Regions from separate parts of the Homo sapiens genome. Here all the other regions are linked to region 2. Evidence: promoter capture Hi-C in 16 types of primary human blood cells and fetal thymus (Javierre and others, 2016). All regions are on one chromosome and are shown on one strand. The core of a region is centred on a gene start or on the middle of the fragment in contact, and the rest is flanking DNA. Distances in the headings are between cores, read along the strand shown. Region 1 overlaps TRD-AS1 (TRD antisense RNA 1). Region 2 holds the start of AJUBA (ajuba LIM protein). Region 3 overlaps TRD-AS1 (TRD antisense RNA 1).

The links. Contacts are between HindIII fragments. The CHiCAGO score rates a contact against its expected background, and 5 or more counts as called.
Region 1: a fragment that was not itself captured here is called in contact with the fragment with the promoter of AJUBA in region 2 in 1 of 17 cell types (naive B cells); the score reaches 6.3 in naive B cells.
Region 3: a fragment that was not itself captured here is called in contact with the fragment with the promoter of AJUBA in region 2 in 2 of 17 cell types (total B cells and naive B cells); the score reaches 5.4 in total B cells.

Annotation. Positions count from the first base shown.
Region 1 is chr14:22,395,551-22,398,250 of GRCh38, forward strand. The region is part of intron 2 of TRD-AS1 (TRD antisense RNA 1); the gene reads right to left. It also overlaps TRA. Among named protein-coding and RNA genes, the nearest start is that of TRD-AS1, 86 kb to the right of the region's middle. The HindIII fragment of the contact is 3,589 bases long and covers 1-2,700 here.
Region 2 is chr14:22,981,274-22,983,973 of GRCh38, forward strand. It overlaps AJUBA (ajuba LIM protein), which reads right to left and starts at 1,278. Exons shown (of 8, transcript NM_032876.6): 1 at 1-1,278. The coding sequence starts at 993. RefSeq lists enhancers at 327-1,292, 1,293-2,258. The HindIII fragment of the contact is 4,726 bases long and covers 1-1,954 here.
Region 3 is chr14:22,378,954-22,381,653 of GRCh38, forward strand. TRD-AS1 (TRD antisense RNA 1) reads right to left here. Exons shown (of 5, transcript NR_148361.1): 5 at 452-2,700. It also overlaps TRA. Among named protein-coding and RNA genes, the nearest start is that of TRD-AS1, 100 kb to the right of the region's middle. The HindIII fragment of the contact is 4,926 bases long and covers 1-2,700 here.

The DNA.
Region 1 (2,700 bases), core at 115-2,614, 590 kb before region 2:
CCAAAGGCTTAATCTCCAGTGGCAGAATGCCAGGTACCAATAGAGGAGATTTGGGGGCAGTGGTCTTCTCGGGACCCTCAAAAATCATTACATAGTTGCCCACTCCTCTTATTTATAAAGCTGTTCGTGTGAATAAGCACCCAACTACTTTGTCTGTGCCCATTTGATCACTGATTGAATAAGAAATAAAAGCCAAACATCTATATTCTTTTTCTTCTCTGAATAATCTTTTCCCCTGTCTTCAGATTTGGAACAAGGAAACCCAGATCCAGGGAAAATATTCTAAATCCTTGACCTCCCTATCCAGTTGGCACCCCAGCCCAGTAAAATGGCTTCAAGTACAACATTCCCCCAACAGCAAAGACAGCCTTCCTGGGAGTCTTGGGTAGGCCTGTCCAGGGCCACCGTGCAGCACACATACATCTTCCCAACCAGCTCCACTGTCACAAACACCATCCACACTGCCATGGGCAAGCCTCTGGCCACCAATGCCACCCCACCTGCTCTGGTGTGGGCACACCTACAGCCATGCCACCAACACTCCTCGTGCACATGTCTATGGTGTATCTGTGCAGTCACAGTTGTCACCAGCTCAATTCTGTGTAACCCTAAGTCCAGGCATCTTGGGGTGAATGTCTCCTTATTCCTTTGTCCATTGTCCTGCTCTCCCTTTAAAATTGTTCATGAGTGTATTTTGCAGAAAGATATGTGATCTTGAAAGACAGAGAAGGAAAGAGATGAAGTAGGAGAGTGGCAGGGGTGGGGGTACAGATTTTGAGAAAGGCAAGAAAAAAGAAAGGATCCTTGACCTCCATCAGTCCCAACTCCCAAAATAAGACTGGCCCTAAAGATAGCTTATTATTTATCCCAAATTAAAATTTTATGGCTCTGCAATCATTGTGTACACAGTGAAAAGAAAACCATCACACAAAAGATGCAGTTATCCTCACAGTGGGAACAATAGCAGCCAAGCTGATTCTGCTCCAAGAATAGAATAACAGTGCTAAGTCAGGAACTCCAAAACTTTGTCAACAAATAGAATAATTTCTTGGTGGGAAAATGGCTATGAAAGAAGGTGGGCAGGAAAGCAACCTTCTGACTCTTGAACTTGGCATGGGTTGCCAGGGAAAATTCCAGCCTTGGTCCCTCCATAGTGAGCTCACAACCAGCTCTGCTGACTGGGGAAAAGTCCTGCCTGAATATGCACAGACTCCAGAAGGCCCTCACCTTACCCTTGCCCAGAATCATATACAGAATCTAACAGGCTGTACCTGCTTCTCTTGCCTAAAGTTATGCATCATTACCAGATTTCCAGCTCCATGATGGCAGAAATTTCAGCTGATTTTTTTTTCCATTGTATCCTCAGCATTCAGCAGAAGGTTTGTATATACTTGGCACTCAATAAACACTTGCTGAATGAACGGTTGATTGATTAATCAATTAATTGATTAATTTAAAATGAGCAAAATACTTTCTCCCTGTCTGGCTTCTGAAGAGTGAGTCTGAGTACTAGAAACTGTCAGATAGGCAATAGAAGCCACAGTCCACTTGGAAAAATGACTGTTTCTACCTTTGCTCATCCTTCTGGGCATCTTAGATTCCTGAAATTCAGGAACAAGGACCCAAGAGATCATGACCCACCAAGTGTCTTTCAACAAAAGACTATTTTCCTGGCTGTTTCCTTTCAGAGAATAAGCCTCCTGGGGCTGATAAGCGAATGGCACCATATGCTGAAAACACAGGCCCTGAGTGGCAGAGGGCACCAGAGCCTCCTCTGAGGAGCCTGTTGGATTGCAGCCTTTCAACAAATCTGAGTGTGTCTTTTGATAGCATCAGCATCAACCACCCCCAAGGACCTCTTTCTTTTATTGCTTCAGCAATGAAGCAGCCACATGGCTGTTGTAGATAAGGTGGCCCAAGTGCATTGTGCATGCAATGTAGGCTGCTGGTGCACAGCACTGAGAATCGCAGACACGCCGTGTACCAGCTTCTCTACACTGCGTTGCCCTTCCTCTGTAAGTGGCCCCCAGGTAAACGGGTGTGATTCCCCACCACTTCTCATTTCTCATTTTCTATCATTTTTTTCTTTGCCAGATGGCTCCTGCAAGACTGAAATCACACAGCCTTCCAACATGGCCACAATGATTGGGACAGATGTCAAGTTCCAACGCTAATATAACATTCCTGATGGGAATTATGATTCTTTGTGCTGGCATCTGCAAAGAGCTAACCAAAGGTTTACCTATATCTGCTATCCTTTCAAGGCACCCTGGAATCAGAGCACTGCTAGTTGTCTGTGGACAGAAAATTGTTCTCCAGAACCCGAATCCTTAAGCATGTGCAGCCAAGAGACTGAGCCATTTACTGCTGTGCACTGTGGGCACCATGATGCATGCTGGATATCACACTGAACAAACACTGTAAGCCTCAAGCAGCCTCAACACAGAAAATTCAAAAGATCCACCAACAACACACAGGGTGTTTAGTGTCATCTTAAACTTGCATCTTGAATGCATCATCGATTCATTCATTCCAAACTAAAAGTCCCTTAAGGCTTTCAAATTGATGTACTGAGTATTGTGAAGGATACCAACATATATAACAAACACTTCTCAAATAATAAAATGTATTCAGCAGGTACAATCTCCTCACTTTTATGTTGCTAAACCATGAGAAATTAAAATTAAATCCTGTATAATT
Region 2 (2,700 bases), core at 28-2,527:
CCTGGCCTCTGGCTCCCGCATCCGGGCCCGGGCGGCCTCCGGAACGAAAGGACCTGGTGGCTCCTCCAGACCCGACGGCTCAATCCCCGAGGGTTCTCCGCGGGCTCCGGCTTCTCGCCCACCGGTGCCCACCGTCAGGCGAAGCAAAGCTGTTAGCTCGTCCTGGTACCGGGCGCCCACGGCGCAGTCCCCGTAGCCGGTCACAGAGTGTCGTCCGGGTTGCGCCCCCCGTCTCTCCAAGGGCCCCGCCGCTCCCACTCCGGCCCCGGCTAGAGCTCCAGGGCTGCCCAGGGCCGGGGGATACGAGTGGCGGCTTTCCTGGCAGCCGAACCCCGCGGGCCGCTGAGCGTACAATCGGTCCAGGGCGGCGTGGAGCTCCGGGTAGGCGGACGGGACCCCTCCGGGAGAATAGCCTGCCGGTGCTCCGGCCAGGGGTGGGCCAAACAGGCACGGCCCCGCTGGCAAGGGGCTCCCGTGGCGCTGGTCGTAGCCCATGCTGATGCCGCTGGTGCGATTGCTGCAGGGCCGGCTACCTCCAGCTCCGCCAGCCCCCGCCCCGTCCAGCAGCAGGCTGCCCCGGGGGCTGGACGGCTTGCTCGCGTCGCTGGCCGAGCTACTGGCGAAGCTAGAGCGGGGGCTGAGGGCCGGGGCCGTGGGCTCCAGCCGAAAATCGGGGGGCAACGACTGAGGTAGAGGCAAGGCCCGGGTGGGCGGCGGCCCCGCGGGAAAAGAGCCTTCGTAGCGCGGCGCCTCAAAGGAGCCGCGCTGATTTCGCTCAGCGTCCAGGGAACCTTGCTCCCGGGCCGGCTCCAACGGCTCATCCCCAGGTCCCCCAGTAGCTCCTCGGGGCCCTGACTTCCTAGGTCCCCCCAACCCACTTAGGCGCCCCTTGCCCGGCCCGGGGGTCCCGTCAGACCCAGACCGGCTAGATTCACCCTTTCTGCGGCCGAACTTCTCCAGCAGGCGACTGGCTTTCTCTCCTAACCGCTCCATGCCCTCGGGCCTGGGGCCTCTCGCCCCCTCCCCGCCTGGCACCCTGCGGCGTCTCGGCGGCCGGTTCTCTTTCCCTGCAGCCGGACTCTGGTTCCCCAGGGGCACAGGGGAGGCACAGGGGCTTAGCGGGCGGCCTGGATGCCCTGCGCCAGGAATCCCACAGCATCCCCCAGCGGGAGGGGCTGCGTCCCCCCGCGCATCTGGGGCTGAGCGGGGCTAGCAGGGTCTCTGGCCGCGGCTGTCCAGTCCGCAGGTCTATCTGTTCACGCGTCGACTCGCCCGACTGCCCCACTCTCCCCGGCCCCCGCCCCCCTAGCTCTCACGCTAGCCACAGACCGAACTTCTCTCCCAAACTTTTGTCTGCCTGGCCGGATCTACTTTCCTAGGGGGGCGGAGCGCGGTGTGTGCGAGAGCGCCGGGGGTGTCCGCGCAGGGATAGCTGGTGTGCGTGCAGCGGAAGGCGCTAACTGCCCTGGATGTGGAGACCCGCGGACTGGACGTGAGAGGCGGGCAGGGGCAGTTGGGGCAGCTGCCCCTACAACACTGAAGAATTGGAATAGGAAAGAGTGTGGGGGTAGGGGACGGGGACTCTTTGTCTGCAGTTGGAATGCGCGGAGGGGCATGGTGGAATGTGTCGCGTCCCGGGACCGGACGACAGGAGGCATGTTCTGCGCTAGCACCGTGACTTTGTTCCCAGCGTGGGGACTGTGGGAGAGATGGAGAGAGACTGGTACAGAAATGGTGAGACAAGGAGAGAGCCATAAAGAGGAAGACAGAGAGAAAGAAGACAAATGCATAAAGAGGTTCAGAGACGTGTACGTAAAGATAGCCCTGAAAGGCGACGAAGCCCACAGAGAGAGGTGGAAGAGGGAAGAGGTAGCGAAAGAAAGGGAGAGCTGAGGAGCAAAGAGGAGTGTGGACGATGCAGAGACCGAAGGGTGCGCAGACAAAGGAAAGGACAAGCTTGTCCAGAGAGAATGAGAGACAAACAGATAAACTGCAATAAAAAGGCACCACCTTCTGGACCCAAAAGTTTTGTGATTTGTAAAAGCAGTGAAAAGGAGTCAGGAAAATGGGACTAATCTCTACTTTGAGAGGGAGGGAAAGAGATATAGTGTGTATGTAGAAGCAGTGAAAAGGAGTGAGGAAAAGGTTTGGGACTAATCTCTACCTTAAGGGTAGGACAGTTAGAGGGATAGACACCCCCTGGTGTTGGGAAATGAGATTTTTCTCATTTCAGGTGACTGTGGAGATCGAAGGCCTGGTTTTAGGGCTAGCGAACACCTTCTCCCTTTGGTTTTGGTCCACAGAAGACTGGTGATACAGAGTAAGTATTAAGAGGAAGAAAAGAAATGCCGTGTAGAGGAAATTGCAAATGAAAATGATCAGGATGGAAAAGAGGCTGATATTGACTATTTTAAAAGGATCAAGAATAAGGAAAAGAAACCCTGGCTGAAGCAGCCGGGCGCGGTGGCTCACGCCTGTAATCCCACCACTTTGGGAGGCTGAGGCGGGCGGATCACTTGAAGTCAAGAGTTCAGACCAGCCTGGCCAACATGGTGAAGCCCTATCTCTACTAAAAATACAAAAATTAGCCAGGCGTGGTGGCGCACGCCTATAGTCCCAGCCACTCGAGAGGCTGAGGCGGGAGAATCGCTTGAACCCGGGAGACAGAGGTTGCAGTGAGCCAATATCACGGCCACTGCA
Region 3 (2,700 bases), core at 102-2,601, 600 kb before region 2:
ACTGCTATGATTGCAAATTGATACAGTATAACAGTAGATTATTTGGCATTAGGTATCAACAGCTTTTAAAATAGTCATCCTCTTGACCCAAATATTGGAAATCTATCATTAAAAGGGTCTTCTGAGCAGATTTTATATAAGCAAAATGTTCATTAAATATTTTTCATACTTTCACGTAATTTGAAATAACATAACTATCCAACACTAGAGAAACAGTTAAGCAAATTGAGCAACATCTACCCAGTAGAATACTATGCCACCATTAAAAATTAGATTTTCAAGAGTTTTAAATTACATGGGGGAAAATAAAGTTAACAGAAAATTGAATGTACAAAACGGCCTCAACAATGTCAGAAAATATACTTAAGACCAAAGACTAAAAGGAAATATGCCAAAATGATGTAGTTATTGTCTCTGGGTAGTGAGATAATAGATTATTTCCTTCTTCCTCTTCTTTTTATAATTGTATGTAAACCACAATTTCTTCTTCAATGAAAACATATTTTTATAATGAGAAAAAATGATCTAATAACAGTATCTTTTAAATACAAGGTTATGTGCCCTGAAAACATTCCTAGTTTCCCTTAAAGTCATTTGTCTAACATAAGTGAATTTGTCTGAATCTCTCTAGAATACACATTCATATGCTCTACCCCAGGAGCAAGGAGTTCCTAAAATCTACTCCCTACTATGTAAAATAAAACTGCCTTTAATTTTTTCCTGAATTTGTTTCAGACTTCAAGTAGAGTTCTTTATTATTTCTGTTCAACAGCACAAACTACAAACATAATCTGTTTGGCAAACCATTTTTATTCAAAAGTATAATAATGCCTTGTTTTTCATCCTTCCAGAGGACCTAGTGGAAGAAAATGCCTAACATCAGGGAACAGTAGGAGCAGCCTAAATTGACCACAGAATTGTATTTGGCCACTGTCCTCAAAAAATTCAAGTGGATTCAGTAATCCTGAATACTTATGTACAACAAGCATTCCTACTATAATAGATCATGAGGATTAAAATGAGGTGAGTTCATTGGTGAGCATGACATGTAGCCATAGCAATTAATCTTAGGTTCCTTCTCCCTTAAAAATGGCTAATAAAACAGAAGAAATGCTGTATGAATAATTTCAGAATAACATGGAATAATTGTAGATATTTCTATAAGATTTGTACCAGATCCACTAGAACAAATCTACCAGTAGCTAAACACTGTAGAGTCTCTAAAAATGGACAAGGAGGAGATGTGACAAAGATACTCTTTAGGGGAATAAAGTCATCCTAAAAACTGAAGATATTTTCTGCTCTGCCAATCAAGGAATCACTGTTCTTTCCCCAGCAAGAAGGAGAGTGAAAAGAGGACCAAATTGGAGGCCCCAAATTTGCATTTTAATCATAACCTTTCATAGCTAATTATGAGATTTGAGCATTCTCTGGATCTCAGTTTGCCACCCATAAAATGATGGGTGGACTGAAAGATTTCTAAGTTTTCCAGTTCTGACATTGCATGGGTCTATAAGGAGCTCCATCTTGGTTGGCCCCTGAAGGCACCTGGAGACTTTGGTTTTAGGGAACCAAGGAGTCTCAGTGCTGAATGAGGATATAGTTCCCCGGTGTAGAATTTTAGAAACTATGCAAGCACTTGGATCTTTAAAAAAAAAATAGTTGGTCCCTGGGCTGTCTCTTACAACTTTAATATTTACACTATGACAAAGTGAAAGTGCTCATTCGTGTTCGAGCCAAAGTAATACCATTCTCTTTATTCATTCCAATGAGCTAATTTTACATGAGCAAGAAAGCACTGGAGAGGTACAGACCCATGGGATATTTGCCTAGCCTAAGTGAGTCTCAGATGGAAATAAATATGAAAAGCGTTAGCATGGGACCTGTGAGAAATTGATTCTTACATCTGGCCTCCAAAGGGTCAAGCCACAAATAAGTGACCTTTGACATGCCCCTTCTCTAGTTCAGCCTGGAGCTGCCCACATTTCCCAGTGGTGCCCAGTCAACTCATTCTCCTGATGCAGGATCATCAGAGAGAATCTGGAGTAATGGCAGCTGCGGGTAAGGGGCTGCCAAATAATAGTGGAACAAAGATCTCTTCCAAGTTTCTATTTCCTCCGAATAGCTCAAATACTTCAACAGTCCAGGTCCCCCTAAAGACTGCATTTTCTTAGCTGCATTCTCTCTAGTTGTGATGAGTGTCTCAAAAAGGAACACCTCTCCTCCTGAGTTTATGATAGTTTATGACCTGCCACTTCATTTCCAGCAGTGTGTCCCAGTTCCTCTTGCAATCCACAAAGGACACTTTTTCTTTCAGTAGCCTGGTGTGAGCTCTTGCCTCTCAGGATTAGCTGTGATCTTACTGCTGGGGTGGGAGCACACTTAGCCACAGGGCCCAAAAGAACTACTGTCACTGAAAAGAGCACTTTCCTGTATTTGAGGGCTCTTCCTCTCTTCTGGTACACCCGGGGAAAAACCTGGCAGAGTCCACCCACAGTCTTTGAGGATTAATTCTGTAAGAACTTCTTACACTGAAGGGAATCCTCCTCCAGGGGATGATTCTGCTCTGTGCTTCTGAGCTCTGATGGCAATCACATCAACATCGCCAGGGACTGTGGCAGAAGAGGAACATCACCCACTGGAAACCGGGGCAAGTTGCTCCTCTGTAGTTCCAGGAAATGGCCAGAGGCACAGCTCTGC